Regions from separate parts of the Homo sapiens genome. Here all the other regions are linked to region 1. The links are contacts of gene promoters, found by promoter capture Hi-C in blood cells and fetal thymus (Javierre and others, 2016). All regions are on one chromosome and are shown on one strand. Each heading gives the region's core, a stretch centred on a gene start or on the middle of the fragment in contact. The rest is flanking DNA. Distances are from core to core; before and after follow the strand shown.

Region 1 (3,013 bases), core at 480-2,979:
CTCAACATGCTTAGGGTTCTTTTGTTGTCCAGCTATGTTCCCTCCTTCCCTCCATTTCCTGTCCCAAAAGGACATCAGAATTCTCCTGGCTCCCTGCTGTGAATAATGAGAGGAAGGAACACTGGTTCTTCACATGCCTCGCAGATCTCATGTTCCCTGTGAAGTCTCCCATGAGTCCCCAGCAGGGTTCCCCTTCCTCTTATTGTCCTTGCCACTGGCTTGAACTTGTCAGTTTGATCTGTCGTAGGATAAGGAGCAGGACATTAGTCTATGGGGAGGAAAAAACTGGGAACAAAGGATAAAAGATAGAGGGAGCAGATTGCAGCCCAAAGCTACACGTCAATGGAACGGGCTGTCTCCTGACGTGAGCAGAAGCTGAACAGTAGCCGCCTCGGAGGAGATTTGGGCATCAGGGGCTAGGTAGAAAGAGGTGATCACCGTTGTCTATCAGATGGTAAGTTCGAGGGCAGGGATCCTGTCTGGGGTGTCCCTATAATCCCCAGCCCTAAGACTGAGCCTTGTTCACTGCTAGTGTCTAAGGTCTGCCCACTGCATTGGAAGGAATTTGTCCTCTCAGACCCTGAGGCACCTACTGAGAGGTGACCATGGCCTGAGAGGCCTGAAGATTAAATAGTCCCTGCTCTACCTGACATTTGAGACCTGCATGATACGTGTAAAATTGATGGCTCAGACAGTAAGAGGCAGAACAACCAAGCCCGGTGGCCAAGGAGAGAGGAGATTTAAACTGAGTTTGAAGGGCTCTGTTTTTTCTACTTTTTCACCCCCGTCCACATTAATGAGCCAGGAAAATTCTGGTGTTGGAAAAAGAGTTGAGGAGGTAACATAGAAGGACAGATCAATGGTCCGGAGTGAGACAGGGAGGAGACAGGGAGCTTAGGACATCTTGACCTTGCCGCTCTGGGGAAGGTGGCAACGTGTAGGCTGTAAATTCTAATCTCTGCTCTGACCACGGCTGCTGTATTAAAGAGGAAATTTCTCTTTACCCCTGCCAAGAAAACCAAAACCCAAATAATTTCTCTTGCCTCAATTTACCCCCCCAGATGAGACCTAAGAGAACATACAGCTCAAAGCTGCTTGGGAACCCCAAAAGTGGAATCTGTTAGCTGCTCTGAGTCTTGATCCTTCTTATCCCTGGATACTGAGTGCCCATGAATGCCCAGAATCTGAAGCAGTCCCATTCTTTCCGGAGGGAAGTCTTTAAAAGAGTCTCATCGACTGATGTAGTGTGGTTAAGGTGCTGTCAGGAAGCAAGGAGATGGATAAGTTGGCTCTTAAGGCCCCTTCCAGCCTAAGCCTACCCTTCCTTGTTCCCTCCTCCCCCTATACCCACCAGCTTCTTCGGGACTGCAAGGAGACAGCAGGCAGGCCGCCCAGCTAGGAGTAATTGAAAGGAGCAGATGAGAGGGGAATGTGTCCTCCCCCAACGCCCCTGCCCCACAGGGGCTGCTGAGAAATGAAAACTAATCAAATTACACCCGACGGCCTCCCGACCCGTGCACAGGAGCCCGCCTGGGCCAGGGGCAGGCTGGCAGGGTGGGGTGGGGGCCATGCGGGAGAAAGAAGGGGAATCACATCTAATCCACTGTAAACGCCTTGATGTGCAGCAACAGCTTAGAGGGGGCTCAGGTTTCTGTGGCGTTGGCTATATTTATCTCTGGTTCCATGCCAGCGGGGAGGGTTTAAATGGCACCCAGCAGTTGGCGTGAGGGGCTGCTGGAGCTTGGGGGCTGGTGGCAGGAACAAGCCTTTTCCGACCCCATGGAGCTGTATGAGACATCCCCCTACTTCTACCAGGAACCCCGCTTCTATGATGGGGAAAACTACCTGCCTGTCCACCTCCAGGGCTTCGAACCACCAGGCTACGAGCGGACGGAGCTCACCCTGAGCCCCGAGGCCCCAGGGCCCCTTGAGGACAAGGGGCTGGGGACCCCCGAGCACTGTCCAGGCCAGTGCCTGCCGTGGGCGTGTAAGGTGTGTAAGAGGAAGTCGGTGTCCGTGGACCGGCGGCGGGCGGCCACACTGAGGGAGAAGCGCAGGCTCAAGAAGGTGAATGAGGCCTTCGAGGCCCTGAAGAGAAGCACCCTGCTCAACCCCAACCAGCGGCTGCCCAAGGTGGAGATCCTGCGCAGTGCCATCCAGTACATCGAGCGCCTCCAGGCCCTGCTCAGCTCCCTCAACCAGGAGGAGCGTGACCTCCGCTACCGGGGCGGGGGCGGGCCCCAGCCAGGGGTAAGTGGCCATCCCATCCCCCTGCCCCAAGGGGACGGGGCCAGAGGGAGGCACCTGGACAGCCTCAAGACCCCAAGAGGGGCTCAGAGGGTTGGTGCAGGTGCCAGACAGGGTCGAGGGGCTGCAGGAGCCCTTCCCTGGTCAGAGCTGGGCTATCCAGCTGACCTCCTGTGTCCTGTGTTCTTTCCAGACAAGATAAAGGCAGTGGGGAGGAAGTGCAGAAGGGGTTGGGGTGGGGAACATAGGACTGAAGAAAGATCAGGAGCAAGGCCACAGTCAGCCCAGGTGAGGGTGAGGATTAATCCCAGCGCCTGAGTCAGAGCCTAAAAGGCCAGGCCAAGTTCACCAGAGAAGACTGCTTTGCCCCCATCCTGGGTGTGGCTGAGCAGAGAGAAAACCCACTCAGTCTCATTGGAACTCCAGCAGGCCTGCACAGAGCGACCTTCACTGGGCCACAAAATCTGTCTCCATCACCCTTATCGCCAGAGTCAGGAGAACCAGGGACCCCTTTAAGCTGGTGTCCTGTGAGAGCAGAACCACCACCCAGGATGGAAGCCAGGAAGGCCTGGAAGCAGGGCCTCTGGGGTGTGAGAGGAGCTAGTTACAAAGATTCTGGGGTTGGGGATGGCCTGGGCTGGAAGGCCACAGCCTGTGGCCCACCCTCCAACCCCACCACAGGTACTTCTGCCCACTGGGACTAGGCAGAGAGAGACATCAAAGAATGGCTGTGCCCCGACCTTGGGCCTTCGCCCTGTCTTGCAGG
Region 2 (3,344 bases), core at 251-2,750, 180 kb before region 1:
CCCTCTGTTTTGCTACTTGGTAGGCAGGTGCTACCTTGTACCATGAGGGCAAGGGCCACTCAATAACAACACAATTGCTGCTGTTGTGAATTTTCTGTTACTCTCATTTCTACCTCATCTTAACTGAGATGCCCTGTGATAGAGTGGGGGATTTGAACCTGAGTCAGTCAGCTGTTTCTCAACACAATGCGAGGTTTCTGGGTCCCCTGTGTGCTCCTGCTGTACCTCATCAGCTCTTAGGTGTGAAGCATCCCTTAGAACTCTGATGAGGTGGCGTTGAAGGAGGGGAGCCACTCTAATGCAGCTTTTCGAACTCATCCATTCCAAAGATGGCTCAGGGCCTTTGCTAGATCCAGAGGCAGCTTGAGGGCGAAAGTCCAGGGCCCTGAGAGGGTGGAAGAGGTGACACTTCTAAGATCCAGGAAACCCCAGCCTCTGCCACAAGACTGGCTGCACAGCTACCCCTGTGGCAGGTGAAGGCAGTGCTCAGGTAGTCCTGGGACTCTTTCTAAACTTCTCTGGCCTGGCCCTCAATGTCCTCTGACAGACTCTAGCTTGCTGGGACACCTCTAAGGAAACTGCCAAGGGAACTGCAGAAGCAGGAGCAGGTGAGAAGTGCCCGGGTGTCTTCTTTCCATGGGGGAATTTGGAGAAGCATTCTGAGCCCAGCAAAGTGTCAGGCAGGCAAGGTAAGGCCTCACCTGATAGGAGGTGTATCCTCGTACCTAGTCTCAGCAAGGAAGGTTGCCAGCTTCATGGCTCTTTTGAGTTAAAAGGGCTGTAAGATCCTTGGTAAACGACCAGAGCCTGAATGTCACAGGGAAGAGGTTGGACTGGGACCCAATACAGCTGCCTATGTATCTGAGAAGACGCTATTTATAAACAGAGAAGGTATTTATTGGCTGGACAATCCTGAGGAAGTCTCCCACTTCTCACTCTCATTCATAAAGTGGGGATCATGATCACTACCTCTCAAGCTTACTGTAACATTGAATGAGGTAATGAATATGAAAACACTCAAAATCTATAAAGTATCTACAAACCTGGAAGATTATAATTCTGCATTTGTACAGTAGAAATAACAGTACCATGGTTGCTATTAGTGCCCAGCCAAATCCCCTTTACTGGTCTGGTGCAACCCTCCATCCCTGCCCACCGGCTGCTGTGAGGTTTGGCTGGTAACAGTTCACAGTTATTCCCTCTGCAGAGACTTCCCCGGGAATGGAAGCTGCCTTACTTGGGGCTTGCAGCCGATGCTTGTCTGACACAGGGGCAGGAAAGGCCAGTCCCCGACCTCAAGACAAGATGAACTCTGGTGTAGCACATGCTTCAGGGATCCCCATGAAATCAGGCCGCAGCTCAGCCACAGCTGACACCACAGCCTGGCTCCCTCCTTCCCCACCCCACTCTCCTTCCTTTTCTTTCTTCTGAGGGTTCTTCCCCAACAGAAGAAGATATGCATGAAATCTGTCCCAGGCTCTGCTTTTAAGGAATCTGGTCCACTTGTCTGCCGTACAAAGTTGCTATGAGGGTTAAATAATATAATACAGATGAAGAGATTAGCCCAGTGCCTGGCATATACAGTGCATATCCAATTAATGTTAAAGATTGCCATTATCCATGAGACTGGAGCATCAGGAACATCTTAGTGTAATAGTGAGGTGTGGAAATCTGGTGAGTGAGTCAGTGGATTGAATTTTACATGCTTAGGGACTGGGGTGGGCAGAGAGAAGGGCAGCTGGGTTTCCTTGGGTATCACTGGTTGTCTCAGCTTTGGGCAGTGAGGGTCCTTTACACAGCTAGGGAAAAGTTCCAGTCATTACATACTTCTACCAGCAGAGGACGCCACTTCCATACAAATAAGTGTTTCCTCTGCTATCTGATGCAGTTTTCATCAAAGCAGTCTAGGCTGGCAGGAAAGATCAGGTACATGACAGAGCAGAAAGTGCCTTCAGATTTGCACAGATAATAGGAGAGGGCAGAACAGGAAGAAACAGTGAGTTAAGCTGTTCAGGAAGCTTCGTGGGAGGTGAGGCCTTGAGCAGGGCACTCTAGCACCAGAAGGAGTATTGAGTGGAGATGGCATTCCCAGGGAAGCCACTACCCTAGGCAAGGTGACCAGGGCCTGAGCCAGGGCCGTGGCAGGGAGGCAGCCACGAGAGGGTATGAAGGACACCAAACACAGGGACAGGACTGATTTCAGCTGAGAGGTCTAGGAGGAGATCATGGGCCCACCAACATGGGGTAGACGTCAGGAAGGAGCACGTTTTTATAGGACAGAGCACACTTCTCCAACTGGTTTGACTGCCCTGTTACAATGTCCTCTGCAAGCCATCATTCTGTAGGATTCCTGTTTTGTGTGGATTCTAGAAACCAGTGAAATATTCAGAGGTGTTAATAGCATCAAGATTTCATTGGTTCTTTCCATTCTTTTTATTTTTATTTTTTGAGATGGGGTCTCAGTCCCTGCCCCAGGCTGGAGTGCAGTGGCACCATCACAGCTCACCACAGCCTCAACACCCCAGGGCTCAGGCGATCCTCCTGCCTCAGCCTCCTGAGTAGCTGAGACCATAGGTACGTACCACCATGCCTGGCTAATTTTACATATATACACATATATGTGTGTATATATAATTATATACGTATATATACACATATATACATATATAATTATATACATATATACATATATACACACACATATATGTGTATATATATACACACATATATATGTATATATACACATATGTATATGTGTGTGTGTGTGTGTGTATATATATATATATATATATATATATATATATTTGAAGAGACAGGGTCTCCTTACGTTGTCCAGACTGATCTTGAACTCCTGGGCTCAAGCGATCCTCCTGTCTCAGTCTCCCAAAGTGCTGGGATTACAGACGTGAGCCACCGCGCCTGGCCAGCTTTTTCCGTTTTGAGTAGAGACGGCAAGAAGCGCCCCACAGCTTGCCCTTGCTTCGGAACTCGGGGTTGTGAATCAGTCAGGATAGAAATTAATGGTGCAGTGGGAATAAAGAGGAATGTTAGATGATCTCGCAGGGGTGGGGGAGAACCCAAAAAGAAAGAACGAACGTGAAGAAGCCTAGCTCTCCGAGACTGGGGTTCAGTCCTTGCTGGAGAAAGTGCGTTGCAGCCCATTGAGGGCAGAAGAGTTCTCTGGGTTGTCCCTGGACAGAACCGGGCCACAGTCAAGAGAGCGAACATTGTGGGGAAGAGAACGGCAGGCCACGGCTCAGGGGCTGGAAGCCCCCTGCTGGGGTGCCCACAAAATTCCTCCGGAAGTTGCTGTTGGGGGATGCGCTGAACTCATGGCAAAGCCA
Region 3 (3,270 bases), core at 496-2,995, 150 kb before region 1:
GATTTCAGGCATAAGCCACTGCACCCAGCCTAGTTAATGGACTTTTATGCAGGCTTCCCCACATAAGCATGATTACGTGGTCTTCAGCCCCACTCCCCTTCCCAGAGGATGGGGGGTGGAGCTGAAGGTTCCAAACTTCTCATCATGGCTTGGTCTTTCTGGTGACCAACCCCCCTCCAGATGCCCACAAAGAGGCACCTCTTTGGAACAAAAGATGCTCCTAGTACCCAGGAAGTTCCAAGGGCTTAGGAGTTCTGTGTCAAAACTAGGGTCAAAGGCTAAACATTAGAACAAGAGATGCACCTAGAACCCCTATTTCTCAAGAAATTTTAAGGGTTTTAGGAGCTCCGTGCCAGAAATTGGGGACAAAGACCAAATATACATTTCTTATATCACAATATCATAGTGGGCCAGATCATGCAGAGAGGTCACATTAATTAATTAATTAATTCAATAGATATGGATTAAGCACCTACTATGTGCTGGGAAATATTCTGGGTACTAGACAAAGAGGACTAAACAAGAAAAGTCCCTCCTCTCATGAAGCTTACATTCTAGTGGTAGGAAACAGACACTACACACAAATGAATGAATGAATGAATGAATTCAGCCATGAAAGTACTTAGGAGAAAATAAATCATCAGGAGAGAACAGAGAGTGACTTGAGGGGAGGGCACTACTTTCTATGAGTGGTCAGGAAAAGCATGAATGAGGAGAAGGAGCCAGCTGTGTGAAGATCACAGAGAAGAACATTGTGGGCAGAGGCAATGGCAGGTGCAAAGGTATCAGGAGAACCCGCCCCTGAATATTCAACGTGGGCCCTTTTCTATTTTTCCTAAGTGTCAGTCGGTCTGAGAAATAAAGGGAAAGAGTACAAAAGAGAGAAATTTTAAAGCTGGGTGTCCGGGGGAGACATCACATGTCAGCAGGTTCCATGATGCCCCCCAAGCTGCAAAACCAGCAAGTTTTTATTAGTGATTTTCGAAAGGGGAGGGAGTGTATGAATAGGGTGTGGGTCACAAAGATCACATGCTTCACAAGGTAATAAAATATTACAAGGCAAATGGAGGCAGGGCGAGATCACAGGACCGGGGCGAAATTAAAATTGCTAATGAAGTTTCGGGCATGCATTGTCATTGATGACATCTTATCAGGAGACAGGGTTTGAGAGCAGACAAGCGGTCTGACCAAAATTTATTAAGCAGGAATTTCCTCATCCTAATAAGCCTGGGAGTGCTACGGGAGACTGGTGCTTATTTCATCCCTTATCTACAACAGTAAAAGACAGATGTCCCCAGAGCGGCCATTTTAGAGACCTCCCCCTAGGAATGCATTCTCTTTCTCAGGGATGTTCCTTGCTGAGAAAAAGAATTCAGCGATATTTCTCCTATTTGCTTTTGAAAGAAGAGAAATATAGCTCTGTCCCACCTGGCTGTCAGGCAGCCAGACCTAATGGTTATCTCCCTTGTTCCCTGAACATCGCTGTTATCCTGTTCTTTTTTCAAGGTGCCCAGATTTCATATTGTTTAAACAATTTATGCAGTTAACGCAATCCTCACGGAGTCCTGAGGCAACATACATCCTCAGTTTACAAAGATGGCGGGATTAAGAGATTAAAGTAAAGACAGGCATAGGAAATCACAAGAATATTGATTGGGGAAGTGATAAATGTCCATGAAATCTTCACAATTTATGTTCAGAGATTGCAGTAAAGACAGGCGTAAGAAATTATAAAAGTATTAATTTGAGGAACTAATAAATGTCCATGAAATTTTCACAATTTATGTTCTTCTGCCATGGCTTCAGCCGGTCCCTCCGTTCAGGGTCCCTGACTTCCCGCAACATCTCTCCCTTTCTTTTTATATAAATGTGCCATGGCGATGAAGGCTTGTTCATTCTCTCGATTTTGATGCAGGATTCTTTGACTTGTCTGACACACTAAAGACAAGCTGGTTAAACAGAGAAACATAATTCCAAAATTTACTAGAGTGGGGCCTCCAATAGACTTAATCAAAGTCGTGGGGTTTAGTCCATAAAGATTTTCTGCCACCTGATCTAACGCCTCAGCTCCAGGCACAATGGATAAGTGAGCCTGAGAGGCTTCAAAAATTTGTTTTTTTAATTTAGTTATGTCCAGTGATAAATTATCTTCCCTGCCAAGAAGGTGTCCTTTGAAAGAACATTGTCCTAATGAAAGAATAGAGTTAGAGTGTTCTAGAGGTAGAGTTAAGGAGTTGATATTTTATTTTAAGTGGGAACCATTGCAAGGTCTTAGCAGGAAAGCAACAGGATCTGATTTAAGTTTCTCAAAGTGTACTCTGGCTGCTGTGTGGAGAATGGATTGCAGAGGCAAGAGAATTAGGAAGGAAGGCAGGTAGGAGGCTCTTCTGGGGACAGGGTGGGAGTTGACGGTGGTTAGGAGGTGGAGGAGATGGAGCAGGAGGCAGGATGTCTAATAGGTCCTGATCATTGAGGGTGAGGAAAGGGAAGGATCAAGGACACTTCCTGGGTGACTTGGAGACCCGGATAGGTGGTGATGTCTTTTACTGCTAAGGGGAAGAACACGGTGGGACGTGGGAAGGAACAGTTAACAAACATTAATTGAAGACCCCCTGTATGCTTGGTGCTGAGGGACACATAGAGAGGTGTGGAGAGAGGCCCCACTCTGCCTGGCTATGGACAGTCCAGCTACAGAGATGAGATGCTCACATGAAGCAAGAGAAAAAGGTGTGATACCAACCATCAAGATGCAGTCCCATGAGATCTGGCTGGCGTCCTCCCACCTACAAAGCCCTCTCACACATTATCTATTCGATCCACATCATTACCAAATAAGATAGGTAGTATTATCCCCATTTTACAGATGAGAAAACCAAGGCTTGGAGAGGCTGTGACTAGCCCCAGCTCAGCCAGCCAGGTTGGATGCAAATCAGCAGAAGCTTTAGAATTTCTATACAGGCATCTGCTCTGCAGTAGGGTGGGACGGGGACTTGCTTTGAAGCCTCATTTTATATCAAGCACACTGGTTTTACTTGGTTTGGGCTTTGGCAGTGGCTGAGAAAGGGGTGGGAGAAGCCAATGGGGCTGGAAAGGAGAGTATAAAATCTATGAAAGTAATTTATTGGTGATATCCATTGAGATACACCCAGTTCTGTCTGTCTCCAAGCCAGGGTTCTTTCCTATTCTGGATGGAAGGAGTTGTTCCAAGATAGCAGAAGGTAGTATGGAGTACATTGACTGTGGAAGAGGCAAGGCTTAACTCAGAGTGAT
Region 4 (3,325 bases), core at 439-2,938, 170 kb before region 1:
TAATGCCATTTCACAGGAGTGAATTATTGCTCTTCAGTGACTGGATTAGTTACCGCAAGAGTGGGTTGTTATAAAGTGAGGTCACCCCTCATGTTTTCTCTCTTGTGTGTGTACCCGCTCAGTGCTCTCACATGCATAACCACCATGTGATGCCATCCTCCATGTTATGACACAGCATGAGACCCTCGTCAGATGCAGCTGTTTGATCTTGAACTTCCCAGCATCAAGAACTGTGAGCTAAACAAACCTCTTTTTAAAAAATAAATTACCTGGTCTCAAGTATTCTGTTACAGCAACAGAAAATGGACAAAGACTGTAAAGGAAAGGAAGTGAGAAGGGAATCAAAATCTGTGGCCACAAAAAAAAATTAATGAAACACAAAAGAAATTATCAAAAGAAAAAAGGGGGGGGGGACAAAGAAAGCTACAAGTGAAACAGAACACAATGAACAAAATGGCAACAGTAAGTCCTTCACTATCAGCAATTTCTTAAAATGTAAATGCCATTATGAGCAATTATATGCCAACAATTGGATTTGGCAATAATTTCTTGGATATGATACCAAAAGCACAGGCAACAAAATAAAAAATAGACAAATAGTACTACATAAAACTTAAGTTTTTTTACACATCAAAGTAACAGTCAACAGAGAGAAAAGGCAACCTATGGAATGGGAGAAAAGAGTTGCAAGTCATATATCTGATAAGGGGTCAATATCCAGAATATATAAGGATCTTGTACAACTTAACAACAAGAAAAACCCCAAATAATCCAATTTAAAAACTGGCAAAGGATTTAAATAGACATTTCTCCAAAGAAGATATATGAATGGTTATTAAGTACATGAAAATATGCTCAACATCATTAATCACTAGGGAAATGTAAATAAAACTCACAATGAGATATCACCTCACACCCATCAGGATAGCCATTATAAAAATAACAGGAAATAACAAGTGTTGACAAGGATGCAGAGAAGTTTGGGTCCTCATGCACTGGTGGTGGGAAAGTAAATTATACAGATGTTATGAAAAACAGTATGGAGTTTCTCAAAACATTAAAAATAGAACTATCATATGATCCAGCAATCCCCCTTTTGGGTATATAGCCAAAAAGCTTCAAAGCAGATCTCAGAGATATTTGCACACCCATGTTCATTGCAGGATTATTCACAATAGCCAACAGGAGGAAATAACAGGTAATTGGATAAGAAAATGTGGTATATGCACATAATGGAATTTTATGTGCCCTTAAAAAAGGGCATGTTACAACATGAATGAAGCTTAAGGACATTATGCTAAGTGAAATAAGCCAGTCACAAATGGACAAATACTGTATAATTCACTCATATAAAGTATCTAAATAAGTCAGAATCCTCAAAACATAAAGTAAAAAGGTAGTCGCCAAGAACTTGCGGGAGGTGGGATGGGGAATTCATGTTTGGTAGGTATAGAGTTTCAGTGTTGCAAGAAGAAAAATTTCTAGAGACTTGTTGCACAAGTGAATATACTTAACAGTACTGAAATGTACATTTAAAAATGTTTAGGATGGTTTAATGTTGTGTGGTTTTTACCACAATACAAAAAAAAAGACTCAGCTAAGAAAACGAACAGGCAAAACCAAAGGCTGGTAGAAAACATTCACAGTACATATATCTGAATATGGATTTCTATCCAGAATAATAAAGAACTTCTAACACAATAAAAATGTGGATGACAGACTTGAGCAACATTTTCAGAAGCAAACAAAGACATATGAATGGACAAAGACATATAAAAAAAGTGCTCGACATCATTACTCAGCAGGCAAAGGCAAATTAAAGCCATAATGAATCACTACATGCCTACTAGAATGTCTAAAATTATAAAGACTGTCAACACCACATGTTGGCAAGCATTTGACATAACAAAAACTCTCACGTTGCTCTTGGATGTGTGAAATGGCACAATTACTTTGAAAAGTTGCTTGCTTGGTAGCTTCTTATTAAACATAAAGCTAGCTGATGACTCTAATTTTACACCTGTGTATTTATTCAAAGTAAATGAAAACATATGTCCACGAAGAGACGTATACATAACTGTTCATAGAAGCTTTGCATTTCTGATAGCCAAAACTGGAAATAACCCAATGTTTATGAAGTGGGATATATTCATAAAATACAATACTTCTTGCAATTAAAAGAAACAGACTACTGATAACAACAAAATGGATGAGTCTCAAAAACTTTATGCTGACTGAAACAAGCCAACATTAAAGAGCTCTCGGTGGCCAAAGCTGGAAAAATTTGAGCAGCAAAATAAATAATGTACTAATAGTATTTGATTATAACTCAAAACATAAATAAATATCTATGAGTCCATATGGATATAAATAAATGATATAGTAAATAAATGGGAGAGAAGGGACAAATGTCCCATACAGAATTATATAATAAAGGTATGTAGTTGCTTCTTCCCCAAGGAAGTGGAGCTTAACTCCTCACCCCTAGAGTGTGGGCTGCACTTACTGACTCGCTTCCAAAGAGTAGAATAGGGAAGCCAGGTGGAGAAGTAGAAACCTGGCAAATAGTATCCCGGCCTGGTAATCAAGATTAAAAAGATCAGTTATGTGGATAATACCTACCTTTTAGTTTTAGTTTTTTGAGACAAGGTCTCACTCTGTCACCAGGCTGGAGTGCAGTGGTAAGATTTCTGTTCACTGCAACCTCTGCCTCCTGGGTTCAAGCGATTCTCCTGCTTCAGCCTCCCAAGTGGCTGGGATTACACGTGCATGCCACCATGCCTGGCTAATTTTTGTATTTTTAGTAGAGACAGGGTTTCACCGTGTTTGCCAGGCTGGTCTCCAACTCTTGACCTCAAGTGATCTGCTTGCCTTGGCCTCCCAAAGTACTGGGATTACAGGCGTGAGCCACCACACCCAGCCTGGGGTGAGATTTTTATTCTATTCTTTAGAAGAATTTGAGAAAGTTTGGCATTTGGTAGAATTTGCCTATGAATCCACTTGGCCAGGCTGGTCTCGAACTCCTGACCTCAAGTGATCCCCCCAACCTTGGCCTTCTAAAGTACTAGGATTGCATGTGTGAGTCATTGCATCCAGCAGATAATACCTACATTTTTAATGAGATGTAATGAGGATGGCACTTCACCTCTGTGGTTTACCTCCCCAAAACATAGAACCCCTATCTAACCATGAAGAAAACACTAGACAAGCCAAAATTGAAGGACATTCTACAAAATACCTGACTAATACTCATTAAAACTTTCAAAGTATTGGAAAAGGTAAAAAGGAAAGTCTGAGAAACTGTCACAGACAAGAGGGGGCTAAA

The links. Contacts are between HindIII fragments. The CHiCAGO score rates a contact against its expected background, and 5 or more counts as called.
Region 2: a fragment that was not itself captured here is called in contact with the fragment with the promoter of MYOG in region 1 in 3 of 17 cell types (M0 macrophages, M2 macrophages and M1 macrophages); the score reaches 6.2 in M0 macrophages.
Region 3: a fragment that was not itself captured here is called in contact with the fragment with the promoter of MYOG in region 1 in 1 of 17 cell types (endothelial precursors); the score reaches 5.6 in endothelial precursors.
Region 4: a contact is called between a fragment that was not itself captured here and the fragment with the promoter of MYOG in region 1, in 3 of 17 cell types (M2 macrophages, M1 macrophages and endothelial precursors). The highest score is 6.4, in M2 macrophages.

What each region holds. Positions count from the first base shown.
Region 1 is chr1:203,084,728-203,087,740 of GRCh38, reverse strand. It overlaps MYOG (myogenin), which reads left to right and starts at 1,729. Exons shown (of 3, transcript NM_002479.6): 1 at 1,729-2,250; 2 at 3,013. The coding sequence starts at 1,780. MYOPARR (myogenin promoter associated myogenic regulatory antisense long non coding RNA) reads right to left here. Exons shown (of 3, transcript NR_160550.1): 3 at 1-1,258. RefSeq lists an enhancer at 1-410. The HindIII fragment of the contact is 23,849 bases long and covers 1-3,013 here.
Region 2 is chr1:203,267,748-203,271,091 of GRCh38, reverse strand. It overlaps LOC124904486 (a long non-coding RNA gene), which reads left to right. Exons shown (of 2, transcript XR_007066798.1): 2 at 1-3,344. Among named protein-coding and RNA genes, the nearest start is that of LINC01353, 18 kb to the left of the region's middle. The HindIII fragment of the contact is 1,041 bases long and covers 980-2,020 here.
Region 3 is chr1:203,233,112-203,236,381 of GRCh38, reverse strand. No RefSeq gene overlaps it. Among named protein-coding and RNA genes, the nearest start is that of CHIT1, 5.1 kb to the right of the region's middle. The HindIII fragment of the contact is 2,393 bases long and covers 549-2,941 here.
Region 4 is chr1:203,249,608-203,252,932 of GRCh38, reverse strand. No RefSeq gene overlaps it. Among named protein-coding and RNA genes, the nearest start is that of CHIT1, 22 kb to the right of the region's middle. The HindIII fragment of the contact is 808 bases long and covers 1,285-2,092 here.